Linked DNA regions of Homo sapiens: regions 1, 2, 4, 5, 6 and 7 are each linked to region 3. The links are contacts of gene promoters, found by promoter capture Hi-C in blood cells and fetal thymus (Javierre and others, 2016). All regions are on one chromosome and are shown on one strand. Each heading gives the region's core, a stretch centred on a gene start or on the middle of the fragment in contact. The rest is flanking DNA. Distances are from core to core; before and after follow the strand shown.

Region 1 (2,998 bases), core at 494-2,993, 330 kb after region 3:
CCCCCAGCCCCTGACAATGACCGTTCTATTCTCTGCTTAAGTTTGACTTTTTAGATTCCAAATGAAGAAAAATCATATAATATTTTATGTTGATGTCTAGCTTACTTAAGTAGCATAATGTCCTAATGTTCTCCAGATTCACCCATATTGTCACAAATGGCAGGATTTCCTCCTTTTTATGGCTGTATAATACTCCATTGCATATCTATCTGTATCTACATCTATCTGTGTATCTATATCACATTTTCTTAATTGGCCTGTCAGTGAACACTTAGGTTGTTTCCATATCTTGGCTATTGTGAACAGTGCTGCAATAAACATGGGGGTACAGATATCTCTTGGAGATACTGCTTTCAGTTCGTTTGGATACATACCTAGAAGTGGGATTGCTGGGTCATATGTTAGCTCTGTTTCTAATAGAACTTTTTTTTGTACTGTTTTCCATAATGGCTATACCAATTTACATTCCCACTGACAGTGTGCAAGGGTTCTCTTTTCTCCACACACTCACCAACACTTGTTATTTCTTGTGTTTTTTTTTAAATGATAACACCACTTTAACAGATGCAAGGTGATATCTCATTGTGATTTTGATTTGCATTTCTCCGATTATTAATAATGTGGAGCACCGTTTTATGTATTTGTCACCCACTTGTAGGTTTTCTTTGAATAAAATGTCTATTCGTGTCCTTTGCCAGTTTTTGAAAAGCAGGTTTTGTTTTTGTTTTTGCTATTGAGTTATATGAGTTCTTTCTGTGTTAAAGACGAACATTGGATATTAATTCTTTATCAGATACATGGTTTGCAAGTATTTTCTCCCATTTTGTGGGTTGTCTTTTCACTCTGTTGATTGTTTCCTTTATTGTGCGGAAGCTTTTTAGTTTGATACAGTCCCAGCTGTTTATTTTTGCTTTTGTGTGCTTCTGGTGTCACATCAAGAAAATTATTACCAAGACCAATGTTAAGAAGCTTTTTCCCTATGTTTTCTTCTAGTAGTTTCAGTTTCAGGTCTTACATTTAAATCTTAATACATTTTGGGTTAACTTTTGTATAGGTTGTAAGATAAAGGTCCAATTTCATTCTTTGGATGTGGTTACCACTTATTCTCAATACCATTGACTGAAGAGACTATCCTTTCCCTATTGCATATTCTTGACACCCTTGTCAAAATTAGTTGACCATATATGTGTGGGGTTATTTCTGGGCTCTCTGTTCTGTTCCACTATTGGTCTATATGTCTGCATTGATGCCAGTACCATACTGTTTTGATTACTATAGCTTTGTAGTATAATTTGAAATCAAGAAGTGTGATGTCTCCAGTTTTGTTCTTCTTTCTCAGATTGCTTTGGCTATTTGAGTTCATTTGTGGTTCCATTTTTTTTTTTTTTTTTGAGATGGAGTCGTGCTCTATCACCTAGGCTGGAGTTCATGGCATAATCTTAGATCACTGCAACCTCTGCCTCCTGGATTCAAGTGATCCTCCTGCCTCAGCCTCCTGAGTATCTGGGACTACAGGCGTGCACCACAACGCCTGGCTAATTTTTGTATTTTTAGTAGAGACGGGGTTTCACCATGTTGGCCAGGCTGGTCTTGAACTCCTGACCTCAGGTGACCAGCCCACCTCAGCCTCCCAAAGTGCTGGGATTACAGGCATAAGCTATTGTGCCCAGCCTTGTGGTTCCATTTGAATTTTACGATTGTATTTTCTATTTCTGTGAAAAATGTCACTGGAATTTTGATAGGGATTGTAATGAACCTGTAAAACATTTTGTGTAGTATGGACATTGGAACAATATTAATTCTTCCAATCCATGAACACAGGATATCTTTCCTTTTATTTGTGTCTACTTTAATTTCTTTCATCAATGTCTATATTTTTCAGTGTACACACCTTTTACTTCCTTTGTTAAATTTATTCCTAAGTATTTTATGCTTTTTGATGCAATTATAAATGTGTCTTAATTTATTTTTTAGATAATACATTGTTAGTGTATTGAAATCCAACTGATTTTTGTATGTTGATTTTGTATCCTACAACTTTGTTGTATACATTAACTTATTTATTTTTGAGACAGGGTCACTCTGTCACCCAGGCTGGAGTGCAGTGGTACAATCACGGCTCACTGCAGACTTGACTTCCTGGGCTCAAGTGATCCTCCCATTTTTAGCCTCCTGAGAATGAGGGTCTCACTATGTTGCCCAGGCAGGTCTCAAACTCCTAGCCTGAAGCAATCCTCCTGCCTTAGCCCTCCAAAGTACTGGGATTACAGTTGTGAGCCACCATGTCTGGCCTACTGAATTTATTTATTAGTTCTAATGGTTTGGGGGAGTAGTTTTTAGAGTTTTCTATATATAAGATCATGTCATATGCAAACAAAGACAATTTAACTTGTTCCTTTCTCATCTGAATATTTTATTTTCTTCTCTTGCCTAATTGCTCTGGCTAGGATTTCTAATACTTTCTGGAATAGAAGCACTGAGAGTGGGCATTCTTGTCTTTTTCCTGATTTTTGGGGGAAAGCTTTCAGGTTTTCACCTTTGAGTATGACGTTAGCTGTGGGCTTGTTGTATACAGTCTTTATTATGTTGAGATACATTTCTTCTACATCTAATTTGTTGAGAGTTTTTTTATAAAAAGATGCTAAATTTTGTCAAATGCTTTTTCTGTGTCTGTTGAGATGATCATATAATTTTTATCCTTCATTATGTTAATATGGTGTGTCACATTTATTGCTTTGCATGTTGAACCATTCTTGCATCCCAGGGATAAATCCCACTTGATCGTGGTGTATGATCCTTTTAATGTGCTGTTGAATTCAGTTTGCTGGTATTTTGTTGAGAATGTTTGCATCTGTGATCACTGGGGATATTGGCCTGTAATTTTCTTTTCTTATATTTTTCTTATCTGGCTTTGGTGTGAGGGTAATGCTGCTCTTGTAAAAGGAGTTTGGAAGTGCTCCATCTCCTTCAATTTTTTGGAAGAGTTTGAGAAAAACAG
Region 2 (2,891 bases), core at 309-2,808, 280 kb after region 3:
AAGACTATTTAAAGGTAGTATATAAAATTCTTTGGTAACTTGCATTTTGCAAATTTACTAAGTCACAAAGTTGGCCAGGTGCACTGGCTCATGCCTATAATCCTGGCACTTTGGGGACAGTCTACTGTGTCTTGTTACTCTAGAAAGTTCCATGTATGTTGGTCCTACATACAGCCAATAATTTGGGCTTTCTCCATAAACTCTGAGCTCAGACAGAAGGAGAGAGATGAGGAAAGCACAGCCATTGCTCATAGGCTGCAGGATCAGATTTCCCTGCAAAAAGAGTTCTGTTACTGTCCAACTCACTGCAGTAGCCACGACAGTGGTCACCAAGGACCTCTCCAGCTACCTGGATTCTCTTATATGATACCTGATCCCAGGCCAGGTAGTTCTATAAGATTGTATTACATAAGGGCCGCACGCAGTGGCTCATGCCTGGCCAACATGGCAAAACCCTGTCTCTACTTAAAATACAAAAAAAATTAGCCAGGCATGGTGGGCGCCTGTAGTCCCAGCTGCTGGGGAGGCTGAGGCAGGAGAATGGCGTGAACCCTGGAGGCGGAGCTTGCAGTGAGCCGAGATCGCGCCACTGCACTCCAGCCTGGGCGACTGAGCAAGACTCCGTCTCAAAAAAAAAAAAAAAAAAAATTAGCCAGGCATGGTGGTGGGCGCCTGTAATCCCAGCTACTTGGGAAACTGAGGCAGGAGAATCACTTGAACTTGGGAGGCGGAGGGTGCAGTGAGCCAAGATCATGCCACCGCACTCCAACCTGGGCAACAGAGACTCCTTTTCAAAAGAAAAAAAAAAAAGATTTTATTATATATGATTCTGGCCTAGGAAGCTATACTAGAAGTACTGTAAACATCTGCTGACATAGGAAAGCACTATTTAATACAGAAAAATAAGACCATGCAGCTTTTTTATTTTATTATATTTTTACTGCTAGTAGACAGACCAGAGTGCAATTTTTGTGGCAAGTAATTTTTACACTTTTTCTCAGGGGTGAGGTAGTTAATAGGTACATATTTAACCACTGCTTTTATGGTGCAAATCTCATGGTGTTGATATCCATATTGAAAATATGAGTATGTTTTATTTTCTTTTTTTTTTTTGAGACAGGGTCTCCCTTTGTTGCCCAGGCTAGAGTGCAGTGGTGCAATCTCAGCTCACTGCAGCCTCGACTTCCCAGGCTCAAGTGATCCTCCCACCTCAGCCTCCCAACTAACTGGGACTACAGGTAAGCATCACCACACCTGACTAATTTTTCTATTTTTTTGTAGAGATGGGGTTTTGCCATGTTTCCCAGGCTGGTCTTGAACTCCTGAGCTCAAGCAAGCCTCCCGCCTTGACCTCCCAAAGTGCTGGAATTGCAGGTGTGAGCCACAGCACCTGACCTAAAAATATGAATATTTTCAATAGCATTTTGAAGGTTCAATGTAAGCCTTGTTTAGATTACTACAGAGACTCCAGTGAATGTTCCTGAGCTTTTGCTTGGTAGAGATATAGAAAACATTACTGTGTTTTAAAGTCAATAATGCCTGATTTTTTCAAATGCCAGTTGCTCGTGGATCTCCAAAAGAAACACAAGATTTGTTCTGTAGAGATATAAATCAGTGATATGCAAAACAGTCCATCCAGCAGCCGCACACACAAAACTAGCAGCCCTGAAACAGCTTGGAAATCAAACTGCTAAGTTACCTAAAAACCACTTGTGGCACTTCTCCCTTCATCCCTTTCCTCCTCCCCCATGCCGTACTGCCAGGTTAGCTTGCAAAGGAACTTCTATGCATTCTGCTTTATCTCTCTCTCCAATAATAAATTTGGAAGTGGGAAGATCACATGGTGGGAAACTCAAGTCCTACTTTTTAAAAATAATAAGCCAGGGCCTGGGCATGGTGGCTCACGCCTGTAATCCCAGCACTTTAGGAGGCCAAGGCAGGTGGATCACTTGAGGTCAGGAGTTCGAGACCAGCCTAGCCAACATGGTGAAACCCCATCTCTACTAAAAATACAAAAATTAGCTGGGAATGACGGCACACGCTTGTGATCTCAGCTACTTGGGAGGCTGAGGCAGGTGAATCGCTTGAATTTGGGAGGTGGAGGTTGCAGTGACCCCAGACAGCGCCACTGCATTCCAGCCTGGGTAAGAGAACGAGACTCCATCTAAAAAAATAAATAAAATAAAATAAAATAAAAATAAAAATAAAATTAAAAATGAGCCAGGAATAAAAACAAAGTGCCAAAATTCACCAACTCCCGATTTTTTTCAGAGGACTAACTGGTTTGTCTTTCACCCAATAAAAAAAATAAGATAACTGCATTTACAGTGTTCACCTCACTGTTTCTTCCCAATGAAGATGAGAGCTTGCTCATCTTAATTCTTAAAGGAACTCAGTACTGGAAACACTACTGCACTATTTCTATTTTTTATTTGAATTAACTGCCTTATACACTTGGCGCTCTCTTACCCTGGTTTCCTAGCGAATACCACTGGACTTGAATGTTCTAGCAAAAATTCAAACAGCACTAACATTTACTGAGAGACATCAATTATATTTACATATAATATCTCCTGCAATCTTTGTAGCCATATTATGAGAGATTATTATCCTCTTTTTTTTTTTTTTTTTTTTGAGACAGAATTTCACTCTTGTTGCCCAGGCTGGAGTGCACTGGCGCAATCTCGGCTCACTGCAACCTCCACCTCCTGGGTTCAAGCGATTCTCCTGCCTCAGCCTCCCGAGAAGCTGGGATTGTAGGCATGCACCACCACGCCTGGCTAATTTTTGTATTATTAGTAGAGATGGGGTTTCTCCGTGTTGGCCAGGCTGGTCTCGAACTCCCTACCTCAGGTGATCCACCCGCCGTGGCCTCCCAAAGTGCTGGAATT
Region 3 (2,767 bases), core at 259-2,758:
ACCAGGATAATAGGTAAATGTTAAAATAAAATGTGTCATGTGGTTTATAAAAGACCTAAGACACAGCAGAGGAACCCTCAGGTAACTCTGCTTAGAAAGGAGGGAGAGCTTCAAAGAAGAGATGATGCTTGATCTGAGATTTAGATAATAAGTAGTAAGTTTGCCAGAAGGACAATAGTGGAGAAGAATATTGTTTAGAAGAAACAGCAAAAGAATGGTAACAATGGTACGGGAGAGTTTGTAGTGTTTTCGCCAGGTGGAGAGGAGGGAGGAATAGCTGCGTGCGAGGGAAAGCGGAGCACGGCAGGAGGTAGTTATTGTACAATATTGCAACTTATTTCACCTTCTTTGATAGGCTCTGCATTCCATGTGGGTAGGACCCTGTTTGTAACTAATCTCTCCTGGTCTCAGTTTCTTCCTGACTCTGATACATTCTCCACACCGCTGCCTATTATCTTCTCAAAACAAGTATGCCATGCCTCAATCCTGCTTTTAAAGTCTTCAAGGACTCTGATCATCAGTAGGGCACACAAGACTATTCACGACTGACCTAGGCGTATCTGACCACACTCGAGTCTACCATTCCACGACTCACACCAGTCCTTCCAGCCACACCAAACTACTTGCCGTTTCCAGAAAATTCCAAACAAAGAAAGTCCAAGCTAAGAAAACCCTCATTCCCATTCATCTTTGAAAGAACTAGTTCAAGTGTTCTATATAGTATTCGCTAGCTTTGCTTCTTCCCACCCCCCACCAAAGAAGCCGCCCTCTTCTGGTTTCCGTGGCAACTTACACATTCTTCTACCATAACACATAGAAAACTAAAATGGGTTCCTGTGTCTACTTCCCCCAGTGGAAAAATCAGACCCTCGGGGGCAAGAAGCCAAGCCCAGGACTTAGCCCAGTGCCTCGAAGGCTCAGTCCACACTCCAGACAACCTCTTCCTCCTCCACCTAAGCGGTATGCCCACACTCGCTGCGCCAAGCACACCCTAACTGCCTTCATCAAGATTTAACCGATTACACACCAAGCAATAGTTCCTATGTTCCTCTCACGAGTAAACACAATAAAGGCACAAAAGCTATGGGTATTGTATGTGCAGCTCGAATCACACACACACACGCCCCACACACACACTCCCAAAGGCAATTAATGACCGCAAGCACCGTCCACCGGACTGGCCAACACAAAATACGGGAGAAGGGCTGCCAAGGCTCAAACGAATTCCCGTCACAAAAACTTTTCTAGCCAAGGCCGGTTAATAAAATAGCCCAGTCGCGGGCACCAGCAGCCCAGAAGCTCGAGCTCTAGCCAATCTCTGCCCTGGACTGCGCAGAGAAGGGAAAGTAGGGAGACAAGCTCGGGGGCCCCGGCGACAGGTGAGTGGGGCTCAAGCCTCACCACGCGGCCGTTCTTCGGTGTACAAGTCGATGACGACGTCGCCTAAAGTGGTCTCCAGTAGAACCGCCATGGCGCCCGCTCCTCCTCCGCTACAAACCCCGGGAGGAGGGGGGTGACAGGCGCAGGCCGACGGCGTCGTCTACGCCACGCGTCACCCTCGGCGCGACCCCTTTTGCGTCATCTCGCCGGCGCCGCCCCCGGTTCCGAGCAGTTCCTTCCGGTCGGCGTGCGGGCGCCGGGCTGCCCAGCTGACTTACGGATCGGGTTGGTCCCGCCCCCGGCGCGGCCGTTTTGAAAATCCTGGTCCGCCCTTGGCGATTTTGGTGGAAGCCTGTCCCTCAGAACGGTCTCAGTATAGTGTTTTGTGCCCCGTTTGTGTCCGTCTCAAGAGCAGAGCGGCCCTCCGCGCGGCCCTTTTATCCACCAGGGGGCGCCCGCGGCGGGATCTTCTCTCCACCTATTTGGGCGGACTCCTCCGGGTTTCCTCGTCAGTCTCCTTTTCGCAAAACAACTTTGGGCCTCTACTAGGGGTTTCCGATTCTAAGAACTAACATTTTGTTTTGTTTTCTGTTTTGAGACAGGGTCTCGCTCTGTTGCCCAGGCTGGAGTGCAGTGGCGCGATGTCGGCTCACTGCAACCTCCACCTCCCGGGCTCCAGCGATTTTCCTGTCTCAGCCTCCCAAGTGACCACAGGCGCGCGCCACCACGCCCGGCTAATTTTGTTCTTTTATTTTTTGTAGAGATGGCGGTCGGGGGAGGTGGTCTCACTATGTTGCTCAGACTGGTCTCAAACTCCTGAGCTCAAGGAGTTCGAACTCTTCCCGCCTTGGCCTCCCGAAGTGCTGAGATTACTGGCGTGAGCCACTGCGCCTGGCCAAAACTAACATTTTGCCATGCAAGTTTATTCCCCAGACACTCTTCTGGGCAAGCCTGTCACTCTTTCTTATGACATTTTACACATAATCTCCAATAACTTCACATCTGACGAAAAGCCAAAGCTTTTTTTTTTTTTTTTTTTTTTGAGACGGAGTCTCGCTCTGTCGCCCAGTCTAGAGTGCAGTGGCGCGATCTCGGCTCACTGCAAGCTCCGCCTCCCGGGTTCACCCCATTCTCCTGCCTCCGCCTCCCGAGTTGCTGGGGCTACAGGTGTCCGCCATCACGCCCGGCTAATTTTTTGTGTTTTTAGTAGAGACCGGGTTTCACCGTGTTAGCCAGGATGGTCTCGACCTCCTGACCTCGTGGATCCGCCCGCCTCCGCCTCCCAAAGTGCTGGGATTACAGGCTTGAGCCACCGCACCTGGCGGAAAAGCCAGAGCTTTTATAATGATTTACAAGATCCTCTCCTACCCCATCCTACGCCATCTTC
Region 4 (3,122 bases), core at 564-3,063, 360 kb before region 3:
TATATGGTCTATCTTGGAGAATATACCATGTGTTGATGAATAGAATGTATATTCTTCAGTTGTTGGGTAGAATGTTCTATACATATCTGTTAAGTCAATTTGTTCTAGGGTATAGTTTAAGACCATTGTTTCTTTGTTGACTTTCTGTGTTGATGATCTGTCTAGTACTGTCAGTAGAGTATTGGAGTCCCCCACTATTATTGTATTGCCATCTATCTCATTTCTTAGGTCTAGTAGTACTTGTTCTATAAATCTGGGAGCTCCAATATTAGCTGCATGTAATATTTAGGATTGTAATATAATGTCCCTCTTTGTCTTTTTTAACTGTTGTTGCTTTAATATCTGTTTTGTCTGATATGGTAATAGCTACTCCTGCTTGCTTTTGGTGTCCATTTGTATGGAATATCTTTCTCCACCCTTTTACCTTAAGTTTATGTGAGTCCTTATGTTAGATGAGTCTCTTGAAGGCAGCAGACATTTGGTTGGTGAATTGTTATCCATTCTGCCATTCTGTATCTTTTAAGTGGAGCATTTAGGCCATTTATATTCAGCATTAGTATTGAGATGTGAGGTACTATTCTATTCATCATGCTAATTGTTGCCTGAATACCCTGTGGGTTTTTTTTCTTCATTGTTATTGTTTTATAGGTCCTGTGAGATTTATGCTCTAAGAAGGTTCTATTTTGGTGTATTTTGAGGTTTTGTTTCAAGATTTAGAGCTCCTTTCATCAGTTCTTATAGTGTTGGCTTGGTAGTGGCAAATTCTCTCAGCATTTGTTTGTCTGAAATAGACTATATCTTTCCTTTGTTTGTGAAGCTTAGTTTCGCTGGATACAAAATTCTGGGCTGATAATTGTTTCGTTTAAGGAGGCTAAAGATAAGACCCCAATCCCATCTAGCTTATAGGGTCTCTGCTGAGAAACCTGTTGTTAATCTGATACATTTTCCTTTATAGGTTACCTGATGCTTTTGCCTCACAACTCTTAAGATTCTTTCCTTCTTGACTTTAGGTAACTTGATGACTATGTGCCTAGGCAAAGAGCTTTTTGTGATGAATATCTTGGGTGTTCTTTGAGCTTCTTATATTTGGATGTCTAAATCTCTAGCAAGGCCAGGGAAGTTTTCCTCGATTATTCCCTCAAATATGTTTTCCAGACTTTTGCGTTTATCTTCTTCCTTGGGAACATCAATTATTCTTAGGTTTGGTTGTTTAACAGAATCCCAAACTTCTTGGAGGCTTTGTTCATTATTTTGATTCTGTTTTATTTGTCTTTGTCAGATTGGGTTAATTTGAAAGCCTTGTCTTTGAGCTCTGAAGTTCTTTCTTCTATTTGTTCAATTCTATTGTTGAGGTTTTTCCACGTATTTTGCATTTCTCTAAGAGTGTCCTTCATTTCCAGAAGTTGTGACTACTTTTTATTTATGCTATGTACTTCTCTGGAGATTTTTCCATCCATATCCTGTAACATTTTTTAAATTTCTTTAAGTTGGTATTCACCTTTCTCTGGTGCCTCCTTGAGTAACTTAATAATTGACCTTCTGAATTCTTTTGCTGGCAATTCAGATATTTCTTCTTGGTTTGGATTCGTTGCTGGTGAGCTAGTGTGATCTTTTGGGGGCATAATAGAACTTTGTTTTGTCATATTACCAAAATTGTTCTTCTGGTTCCTTCTCATATGGGTACACTGTGTCAGAGAAAAGATCTGGGGCTCAAGGGCTGCTGTTCATTTTCTTTTGCCCCACAGGTATTCCCTTGATGTGGCACACTCCCCTTCCTCTAGGGATGGGGCTTCCTAAGAGCCAGAGTGCAGTGATTGTTATTTCTCTTCTGATTCTAGCCACCCCGTGGAGCTACCAGGCTCTGGGCTGGTACTGGGGAGTGTCTGCAAAGAGTCCTGTGATGTGATCCATCTTCAGGTGGATACCAGCACCTGCTCCAGTGGAGGTAGCAGAGGAGTGAGGTGGACTTTTTGTGGGAACTTTGTTGTAGTTTTGTTTAGTGTGCTGGTTTTCTCTAATGCTGGTTGTCCTGGCAGTAAAGTTGTCATGTAGACAGACTCAGGACCTCTGGTTATCCAGGATGTTACAGGCAGTAGAGTTAGCTGTTTTCTCCTTTCTTGGGACAAGGCTGTTCTTTTATGAGTTGCTGTAATGGTTTGTGTTGATTGGCCTCCAGCCAGGAGGTGGCGCTTTCAAGACAGCATCAGCTGTGGTAGTACAGGGAGGATACAAGCCTGCCCTAGGTTGGCCAGGTGATGGGTGAAGCCACAGAGCTTCAAAGAGATAATGTCTTTTGTCTTTGGCTACCAGGGCAGGTAGAGAAAGACCATCAGGTGGGGGCAGTGTTAGGCATGTCTGAGCTCAGACTCTCCTTGGGCAAGGCTTGCTGTGGCTGCTATAGGGGATGAGGGTGTTTTTCTCCAGCTGACAGAGTTATGTTTCCTGGGGGATTATGGCTGCCTCTGCTGCATCATACAGGTTGCCAGGGAAGTGGTGGAAAGTTGGCAGTGACAGGCCTCACCCAGCCCCTATGCAGCCAAAAAGGCCAGTCTCAATCCCCCTGTGCTCCCCCAACAGCACCAACTTTATATCCAGGCAGCCGGTGAGAAAACTTTTTTTTAAAAGATCATTTTTCCTCAATTTTAATATTTAAGAAAATATATTTATTTATAAAAAATATTTTTTAAAGAATAAAACATTTTTAAAGTCTTCAAGGCAAAACCAATAACAATGTATTGGCAAAAATCATGATGCCAGAGTAGAGGGGCTAAATTAGCCCTAACTAAAGGATGTGGTGGGCCCACCATAACAAGCTTAAAAGAAAGTCTTAAAAAGATAAAACTGATCCCAAGTAACTTAACTGCTAAAAAGGAAAAAAGTCGGTATTCATTAAAGAAATACAGTAAAATGAGCACTCAACAACGTAAAATTGACAATGGCTAAGATTCAATCAAAAATCACAAAGCATGTAAAGAAACGAGAAGAGATTACCTATAACCAGGAGAAGAATCAATTACAGACTCAGAAATGCCAGAGATAATAGAATGGGTAGAAGGACCTTAAAAGATTTAATATTGAAAGATTAAGATTTTAAAATCTTATTAACATGTTCAAAGATATAA
Region 5 (3,152 bases), core at 127-2,626, 310 kb before region 3:
TGAGAGAGATGTGCTATGGGGTAGGAATTGGACAAGCTCACTTACTGAGCTGGTCAGCCCACTTCCCAATGGGCGCTCTCAGAAGGAACCCTGTGAGATAGAAAGCAGGTCTCTCTGCCTTCAGGATACCTACATTCTAATCAGAGGCTGCCACACTAAACTTGCAGCCTCACCTCATTACAATTCAGTTCTTGTGCTTCTGAACTTTTACACCAGTATTTGGGGAACATTAGGAAGGGGAGACGAAATGTGGACAATGATTCCATTTTATTACATATGAAAAGGGCAGTGGAGCTGATGATTAATAACTACCGCATGCCTTGTGAGCTTGAACAGTCACCACTTTAATGTCAGAGACTTTATTTTCTGTTCCATAGAAAATGGTGGAAAAAGTAGCAAGAAAACAGCATGCATCTGTGGTTATATACTTATGCAATCAGATACTTAATTGCATTCTGTAAATTGCATGTATGTATGTAGGAAGCAATCATTTGTTTAACAACTCTTTGTGGTGTTTTCTTCTAATTTTCCTACAAATTAAATTTTAAACTTGATTTGGGGGTGATACCTAAAGTAAGTTGAACACGCTTTAAATGTCTTTTCTATATAATATTGACTGTCTTGGGAAAAGCACTTAATCACTGCATATGTACATATGTAGATGAGTCTAATTTCTCTTGAAAGAAGAAATTTAAATAAGCTAAGCTAGAGCTCCTATATTAAAACACCTAAAATTAAGCAAAGTATTTTCGAAATGAGTGTGAAAATCTCCTTTGGAAAGTTGACAGTGGGGAAGACATTTAGACCGTATCTCTGGTCCTCAAGTAAGAGGAAGCTCAAACATCAGGGGAGCAGAGGAGGTGTTTACATTTCTTCTTCCAGTTGAAGTTTCACAACTTTGGAAGCAAAAAAGAGAGGAGTGAACAGCTGGCTTTTACAGAGTATCGGAGAGCAGGGTTTCTGGACCAGGGCTCCCTACCCAGAGCAACGGGTTACTGGCAAAGGACAGCGAGAGGATCTACAAACGCTTGGGAAAACATGCTTAACAGGAAGCTCACTGACCTGATTGTGAGGATCAGAAACAGAAATTTGAGGGTGGAGGGGGAAAACTCTGTGAACTTACAGGACAGGGAACAAGACGTGCGCTAGAAAGAGAAGAATGATTGGGGAGGTGTTCCTTAGTGTTCAGCAGAAATAAGGAAGAGGGAAGAGCACGAGGCCAGGCCTCGGGGACCACCAGCCAACCCACAGACACAGAAACAAAGGGAGTTTGATTTTTTTTTTTAGACGGACTCTCGCTCTGTCGCCCAAGCTGGAGTGCAGTGGCACCATCTCAGCTCACTGCAACCTCCGCCTCCCCAGTTCAAGTGATTCTCCTACCTCAGCCCCCCAAGTAGCTGGGATTACAGGCACACAACACCACGCCCAGCTAATTTTTGTATTTTTAGTAGAGACGGGGTTTCACCATTTTGCCAGGCTGGTCTAGGATTCCTGACCTCAAGTGTTCCGCCTGCCTCGGCCTCTCCAAGTGTTGAGATTACAAGCGTGAGCCACCACCCTCAGCCCAGGAGCTTGATATATTAACACAAGACAGAACTATGATCTCACAGTGTCACTGAGGCAGGAACAAGGCCGATGACAGGAATACCACTAAGGGAGGCTATGCCTTGTTCAAACCATAGAAGTGGGGGGAGGGTATCACTGAACTGGATAATAACACTAGGTGTAGTTAGCTGTCCCTATATAGCAAGCATTGTGTTTATTGCCTTCTATTAGTTATTTCCTTTAATCCAACAAAGTAGAGTTCCATTTTTCAGATGAGGAAACTGAGGCTTGGAGAAGTAGGCTCCAAGCAGGCTTTCATCCTCTACACTAAACTGCCTCCAGAGAAAGTGCCCCAGAGCAGAACAAGCCTTGGAATGCTGTCGTACCCCTGGCCCATCCTGAGGGATGCTGCTGTACTTCCCTCACAGCGACCTGTGTGGAAGTCGAAGCCCAAAAGGCAGGCACAGCTGACATCCTGGCCAGGAGTACCCACTCCCATGCCAGGGCATAGTACATAATAGCCCTGTTTCACCTGCCTAGTGTCCACCCCTCACACCAGGAGTGATATATCCTGCATGCAGACCCACCAGCCGGAAGATGGAGGTAGCCAGGCACTCATGGGTGGGGACAAATGATGACAGGAAATAACCAAGGAAGTCATGAATGCCATGGTAACTACCTGGCGGGGGGTGAGAAACAAGGGCTTTCCAGCACAAGTCACAACTTGGGCACTTAGCACAGTGACCAAGAATCTGTCATCCAGGGTCCGAGACAAACCTCCCTCCGCTCAGTGTGCCTCCTTGGCTTCTCCACTGAGACGCCTCTACTGTAGGCCAAGAAAGTTGATCCTGAAAGCTCACCGCAGAAAGCAGCAAACTAAACCTCCTTCCTGCCTGGGCCCAGAGCCACCCAGGGCCCAGCAACCAGTTCTTATCTCTTCATCTGATTTGTCACACGTAAGTGTCATGGTTGAGCCATTGGTTTGTCTCCTCCATTATATTATGAGCCTCTTAAAGGCCAGAAGTGGTTTTTTATCCCTGAATCACCAACATGTAACTGCCCCCTAACAAAGCACTAAGTAATTGTTTACCAAATGACTCATGGATCTGACATTCTTCAAATGAAAACCCCCTAGGAAGGTTTTCTCCAATAGATTAGTCCTGCTTTCCTTTACACTTCACAATATACTTGTTTATTAGATTGTAAATTTCTCAAGGCCAGAAACTCACCTTAATCTATTCAATTGGTGCAAAAGTGATTGTTGTTTTTGCAACTACTTTTAATGGCAAGAACTGCAATTACTTCTGCACCAACCTAATATATCCAATGCTTGATCCATAACGGGCTCTCCATAAACAATAATATAATTTTTTTACCACCATGAAGCCCTCCAACCCTCCCCAAATGCTGTTAGGTTGGACCTCTCAATCCTATCCTTGTGTAATTCGCTTATGAAATGTAAATGTGGCATTTTTACATTTATTCCTATGAAGTTCCAACAGTACTTCACTTCAGTTTATGATTTTTTTAACCTTTTAATAATAATAATCAGTCACATTTTTGTCATTTGTATTTTCAACCAAGTCTTTAAGAACTATATTGAACAA
Region 6 (3,011 bases), core at 414-2,913, 340 kb before region 3:
ACCTCTGTGGTTATATGGGTTCTCCCTGTGTGTTTCTGTGTGTCTTCATCTCTTCTCCTCCTCTCCTCCTCTTTTTTTTTTTTTGAGATGGTATCTCACTCTGTTGCCTAGGCTGGAGTGCAGCGGCGTGATCTCAGCTCACTGCAACCTCCGCCTCTACAGTTCAAGCGATTCTTCTGCCTCAGCCTCCCAAGTAGCTGGGATTACAGGTGCCCAACACCATGTCCGGCTAATTTTTTTGTATTTTTAGCAGAGACAGGATTTCACCATGTTGGCCAGGCTGGTCTCAAACTCCTGACCTCAGATGATCCGCCCACCTCAGCCTCCCAAACTGTTGGGATTACAGGCATGAGCCACTGAGCCTAGCCTTCTCCTCTTATAAGGACACCAGCGATACTAGATTCAGGGTCCATCCTACTCCAATATGATCTTATCTTAATTACATCTTCAATGACCCTATGCCCAAATAAGGTCACACTCTGAGGTAGCAGGGACTAGAACTTCAACATATCTTTTATCTTTTAGGGGGGCACAATTTAACCTGTAGCACCATCATTCACCTGTTTGCGTTCAGATTAATTTCCTACTCTCTCTCTCTCTCTCTGTCTCTCTCTCTCTCTGCTCTTTCTGTGTCTCAAAGTATTAACTCCTATAATCTATATTTTCCAGACTCCCTTGCCAAACTGGCTTCTGGCTGATGTCAACCAACGGGAGGCACTAGCAAGGGACTGGCAGGAGGGAGAACCGAAGAAGCCAGGGTGATTCTCCCCTCTATCTCTGCCTTGGGCAGTGTTTCCAGTAGCAGCTACATCTACTCCATGATTCTAGTTCCTTCTGGAAGGCTTGCTGTAGCTGGGAGGCTCTCCCAGTATGCAGCAAGGGGGCCAGAGCTGCTAAACTCTGTGAATGCCATCCTCCAACTCGCCTCTGCTTCTAAAATCTGAGTTGCTTCATTCTTCAGTTTGCTCTGTCAGCTCTTCCAAGACTTTTATAATTAATTCCCCTAATTAAATTCTCTCTATTGAACTACCTGGCATAAGTTCTGTTTTCCTGACAGACCCCTGACTGATCAAGCTTCAGGCAATGCCAAGCTCTGAGTCAACTAGTAGAGAACAGGAGTGTGCCAGGGGGCAGACATCAAGGCAAGTATTGAAAGGACCACCAATGGGATAAGAGAGCAGACCCCAGTGCCCCCCTTCCCTCCCCCTGCAAACGCAGCACAACTGTCAGGAGACGTGTGTGGGAAATAATAGCTGTGTGCAAAATCCTTCACGTTTCTTAGTGAGCAGCCAGTAGATACCATCCAATGTTGTTTTCAAAAGGAACTATAAGCATATTTCTAGTGTAATGATGTTACAGTAGACACCAAAATTATTTAAAACATCAATAAATAAAAATTATCTCTCAGGACTTAGACTTAGGGTAGGCAGGAATGGGCTTATTTTGGTTTATTTTCTCTCCTTCTGTGCTATTTGAATGTTGTAAAACTTTTGCCTCTATTACTTTTGGTTGTTGTTGTTGAGACGGAGTCTCGCTCTGTCACCCAGGCTGGAGTGCAGTGGCGAGATCTCGGCTCACTGCAAGCTCCGCCTCCTGGGTTCACGCCATTCTCCTGCCTCAGCCTACCGAGTAGCTGGGACTACAGGTGCCCGCCACGGCGCCCAGCTAATTTTTTGTATCTTTTAGTAGAGACGGGGTTTCACCGTGGTCTCGATCTCCTGACCTCGTGATCCACCCACCTCGGCCTCCCAAAGTGCTGGGATTACAGGCGTGAGCCACTGCGCCCGGCCGCCTCTATTACTTCTTTAATGTTTTAAGCACTAATTTCAAAGATTTGACTGGGTCTTTGTCTAGCTAAGGAACAAGTGATTTTATATCAAGTCTTATTTCCTGGACATAGAAGGGGGAAGGTAGAGATGAAAGAGTGGAGAATTTTGAAGCAGGCATGTGAATAAAGAAGGTAATGGCACTACCCATTGACTAAGTAATTGCTTTACATGTTACACTGTGGATGGGGGAAATCCATGCAGAGGGTGTTTCATGTTAGGAAATATGCCACTCTTTCCAAATGTGATATTTTTGAGAATTACTGTGTGTTAGGCCATTCTTGCATTGCTATATATAAAAAAAAAAAAAACGAAAACCTGAGGCTGGGTAGTTTATAAAGAAAAGAGATTTAATTGGCTCACTGTTCTGCAGGCCGTACAGGAAGCATGGTGCTAGCATCTGCATGATGTCCGGGGAGACCTCAGGAAGCTTACAATCATGGCAGAAGGCAAAGGGGGAGCAAGCATCTCACATGGTGACAGTGGGAGTAAAAGAAAGAGTCAGGGGTTGGGGAGGTGCCACACACTTTTAAACAACCAGAACTCATAAGAACTCACTCACTATTGTGAGGACAGCACCAAGTCATGAGGCATCAGCCCCCATGGCTCAAACACCAGGCCCCACCTCCAACACTGGGGACTACATTTCAACATGAGATTTGGGCAGGACAAATATCCAAACCATATCCTACTGTTCGTTCTTGGGAGATGTGTGAGTGCATTTGATCTATTATTTTTAATCCTCACTCCTACTCCTGCTGTCCAAGACCAGTAAGAAGGAGGAGGCTCATCTACCCCTCCACATTGGCAGAGGGCATGGAAGAGACAGAGCTGAAAGGGCTCAAGACTGCTCTGAACATTTATAGTAAGCCCAGGCATAGCTGCACAGGGTAGATAAGTAGTGCTGGAGTGATTAGAAACTTTCATCTACAACAGCACAGCATAGTTTTTAAAAAAATACATAGGCTTAAGAAAAAGATAAACCTGGGTTTCAGTCTCAGCATTGCCATCTACTACTTGTACTTAAATTCTCTGAACTTCAATCTCCATTTCTGCCAAACAGAGATAACATTTAGTCAACACAGTTTTCATGAAAAATGAGAAAATACATGCAAGGAATTTTATAGAATGTCTTGCACGTAGGAGGACCTCAATAAAACACATCCATTGCTGATGAGGAAATAG
Region 7 (2,928 bases), core at 328-2,827, 440 kb before region 3:
TTTAATTCATAAAATAAATGTTACTAGACCTAAAGAAAGAAATAAAGCAATACAAATAAGAGTGGAGCATTTTAACACCCAACTCACAGCACTAGACAGATTGTCAAGACAGAAAATTAACAAAAACATTGGGGTAAATTGGATTTCAGACCAAATGAACTTAACAGACATTTATTAAACATTTCACCCCAAAACTACAGAATACACATTCTTTTCATCAGCACATGAAACATTCTCCAAGACAGACCACATGTTAGGCCACAAAACAATCCTGAACAAGTTTTTAAAAATCAAAATTCCATGAAGTATCTTTTTGCATCACAGTGCAATAAAGCTAGAAATCAATACCAAAAGGTACTTTAGAGCTTTCTCATACCAACCCCTGGACATTAAAATTCATGCTCCTGAAAAACTCACTGTGTCAATGAAAAAATTAAAACAGAAATTAAGATATTTTTCGAAATGAATGAAAATGAAAATAAAACATTCCAAAACCTGGGAGATACAGCAAAAGCAGTGCTAAGAGTTAAATTTATAATATTAAATGCCTACATCGAGAAATACAATAGTAGGATGACTATGGTCAATAATAATTTAATTGTACATTTTAAAATAACTAAAAGAGCATAACTGGATTGTTTGTAACACAAAGGATAAATACTTGAAGGGATAGATATCCCCATTTTACATAATATTATTATGCATTATGTGCCTGTATCAAAACATCTCATGTAACCCATAAATATATACACCTACTATGTACCCACAAATATTAAAATTAAAAAATACTTTGGAAAAAAAAGTAGAAATAACAAATAACAACCCAATGTTGCACCTCAAGGAAATAGAAAAGCAAGAACAAAACGAAGCCAAAGTTAGCGGAAGAAAAGACATAACAAAGATCAGAGCAGAACTAAATGAAATAGAGAACAAAATAATATAAAGGATCAATGAAATGAAAAGTAAGTTCTTCAAAAAGATAAACAAAATTGATAACCCACTAGCTAGAATAACCAAGAAAAAGGAGAGAAGATCCAAATAAACACAATCAGAAGTGAAAAAGGAGACATTACAATTGATACCACAGAAATACAAAAAGAAAAAGAAATAATAGCTTCAGCAGAGACTATTATTATTACTGTATGAACAACTATATGCTCACAAACAAAGAAAATCTAGAGGAAATGGACACATTCCTGGAAACACACCAACCTCCTGAGATTGAACCAGGAAGAAATAGGACTCCTGGATGGAGCAATAATAAGTAGTGAAATTGAAGCAGTAATGTAAAAAATCTTCCAACAAAAAAAGCCCAGGACCAGATGGATTCACAGCCAAATTGTACCAAATATACAAAGAACTAATACCAATCCTCCTGAAATTATTAAAAAAAAAATTAAGGAGTAAGGTATTCTCCCTAACTCATTCTACAAGCCAGTATCAACCTGATACCAAAACCAGACAATGGCACATCACAAAAATAAAACTATAGATCAATATCCCTGATGAACATAAATGAAAAAATCTTCAACAAAATACTAGCAAATCAAATCCTACAGTGCATCCAAAAGTTAATACACTATAATCAGTTGGGTTGTATCCCAGGGATGTAAGGATGTTTCAACATATGAAAATCAATAAATGTTATACATCAAATAAACAGAATTAAGGGCAAAAACCATATAATTATCTCAATAGATGCAGAAAAAGCATTCAATAGAATTCAGCATGCCTTAGTGATAAAAATCTTCAAGAAAGATGAAAAGAACCTAGGCCTGGAAAGAATTTACTCCAACATAATAAAGGCCACATACAACAAACCCACAGCCAACATCATATTTAATGGGGAAAAGTTGAAAGTATCCCCTACAAGAACTGGAACAAGACAAGGATGTCCACTTTCTTTTTTATTTATTTATTTATTTACTTTTTTATTATATTTTAAGTTCTAGGGTACATGTGCACATTGTGCAGGTTAGTTACATATGTATACATGTGCCATGCTGGTGCGCTGCACCCACTAACTCGTCATCTAGCATTAGGTATATCTCCCAATATTATCCCTCCCCACTCCCCCCACCCCACAACAGTCCCCAGAGTGTGATATTCCCCTTCCTGTGTCCATGTGATCTCATTGTTCAATTCCCACCTATGAGTGAGAATATGCAGTGTTTGGTTTTTTGTTCTTGCGATAGTTTACTGACAATTATGATTTCCAATTTCATCCATGTCCCTACAAAGGACATGAACTCATCATTTTTTATGACTGCATAGTATTTCATGGTGTATATGTGCCACATTTTCTTAATCCAGTCTATCATTGTTGGACATTTGGGTTGGTTCCAAGTCTTTGCTATTGTGAATAATGCCGGATGTCCACTTTCATAATTCTTATTCAACATAGCAGTGGAAGTCCTCACCAGTGCAATCAGGCAAAAGAAAAAAAAATAAAAGGCATCAAAATCAGAAAAGAAGAAGTCAAATTATCCCTTTTTGCTGATGATTAATCTTATCTCTAGAAAACCCTAAAGACACTACCCAAAAAATTCTTAGACTTGATAAATGAATTTAGCGAAGTTTTAGGATACAAAATTAACATACAGAAATCAGACACATTTCTATACAACAATCATGACCTGGGCAAGGACCAAATCAAGAAAGCAATCCCATTTACAATAGCTATAAGAAAAATAAAATACCTAGGAATACATTTAACCAAGGAGAATAATGGTCTCTATAAGGAGAATGACAAAACACTGATGAAAGAAATCATAGATGACACAAACAAATGGAAAAACATCCTGTATTAGTTCGTTTTCACACTGCTATAAGGAACTGCCCAAGTCTGGGTAATTTTATAAAGGAAAGAGGTTTAATTGACTCACAGTTCAGCTTGGCTGGGGGGGCCTCAGGAAATTTACAATCATG

What was found. Contacts are between HindIII fragments. The CHiCAGO score rates a contact against its expected background, and 5 or more counts as called.
Region 1: a fragment that was not itself captured here is called in contact with the fragment with the promoter of PPIL4 in region 3 in 1 of 17 cell types (naive CD4 T cells); the score reaches 5.5 in naive CD4 T cells.
Region 2: a fragment that was not itself captured here is called in contact with the fragment with the promoter of PPIL4 in region 3 in 5 of 17 cell types (naive CD4 T cells, erythroblasts, neutrophils and 2 more); the score reaches 7.5 in naive CD4 T cells.
Region 4: a fragment that was not itself captured here is called in contact with the fragment with the promoter of PPIL4 in region 3 in 5 of 17 cell types (non-activated CD4 T cells, naive CD4 T cells, total CD4 T cells and 2 more); the score reaches 7.5 in non-activated CD4 T cells.
Region 5: a fragment that was not itself captured here is called in contact with the fragment with the promoter of PPIL4 in region 3 in 4 of 17 cell types (neutrophils, non-activated CD4 T cells, naive CD4 T cells and 1 more); the score reaches 7.2 in neutrophils.
Region 6: a contact is called between a fragment that was not itself captured here and the fragment with the promoter of PPIL4 in region 3, in 1 of 17 cell types (neutrophils). The highest score is 5.6, in neutrophils.
Region 7: a contact is called between a fragment that was not itself captured here and the fragment with the promoter of PPIL4 in region 3, in 5 of 17 cell types (naive CD4 T cells, non-activated CD4 T cells, total CD4 T cells and 2 more). The highest score is 10.0, in naive CD4 T cells.

What each region holds. Positions count from the first base shown.
Region 1 is chr6:149,871,182-149,874,179 of GRCh38, forward strand. The region is part of intron 5 of RAET1E-LRP11 (RAET1E-LRP11 readthrough); the gene reads right to left. The region is part of intron 1 of RAET1E-AS1 (RAET1E antisense RNA 1); the gene reads left to right. Among named protein-coding and RNA genes, the nearest start is that of LRP11, 8.3 kb to the left of the region's middle. The HindIII fragment of the contact is 1,552 bases long and covers 968-2,519 here.
Region 2 is chr6:149,827,394-149,830,284 of GRCh38, forward strand. The region is part of intron 5 of LRP11 (LDL receptor related protein 11); the gene reads right to left. The region is part of intron 13 of RAET1E-LRP11 (RAET1E-LRP11 readthrough); the gene reads right to left. Among named protein-coding and RNA genes, the nearest start is that of RAET1E-AS1, 35 kb to the right of the region's middle. The HindIII fragment of the contact is 3,228 bases long and covers 1-2,891 here.
Region 3 is chr6:149,544,535-149,547,301 of GRCh38, forward strand. PPIL4 (peptidylprolyl isomerase like 4) reads right to left here and starts at 1,509. Exons shown (of 13, transcript NM_139126.4): 1 at 1,402-1,509. The coding sequence starts at 1,471. RefSeq lists enhancers at 1,399-1,698, 2,402-2,767. The HindIII fragment of the contact is 2,652 bases long and covers 1-2,397 here.
Region 4 is chr6:149,188,233-149,191,354 of GRCh38, forward strand. No RefSeq gene overlaps it. Among named protein-coding and RNA genes, the nearest start is that of TAB2-AS1, 68 kb to the right of the region's middle. The HindIII fragment of the contact is 1,996 bases long and covers 816-2,811 here.
Region 5 is chr6:149,230,962-149,234,113 of GRCh38, forward strand. It overlaps a transcript of TAB2 not described here. Among named protein-coding and RNA genes, the nearest start is that of TAB2-AS1, 25 kb to the right of the region's middle. The HindIII fragment of the contact is 8,008 bases long and covers 1-3,152 here.
Region 6 is chr6:149,207,312-149,210,322 of GRCh38, forward strand. No RefSeq gene overlaps it. Among named protein-coding and RNA genes, the nearest start is that of TAB2-AS1, 49 kb to the right of the region's middle. The HindIII fragment of the contact is 1,182 bases long and covers 1,073-2,254 here.
Region 7 is chr6:149,099,489-149,102,416 of GRCh38, forward strand. No RefSeq gene overlaps it. Among named protein-coding and RNA genes, the nearest start is that of UST-AS2, 68 kb to the left of the region's middle. The HindIII fragment of the contact is 4,506 bases long and covers 1-2,928 here.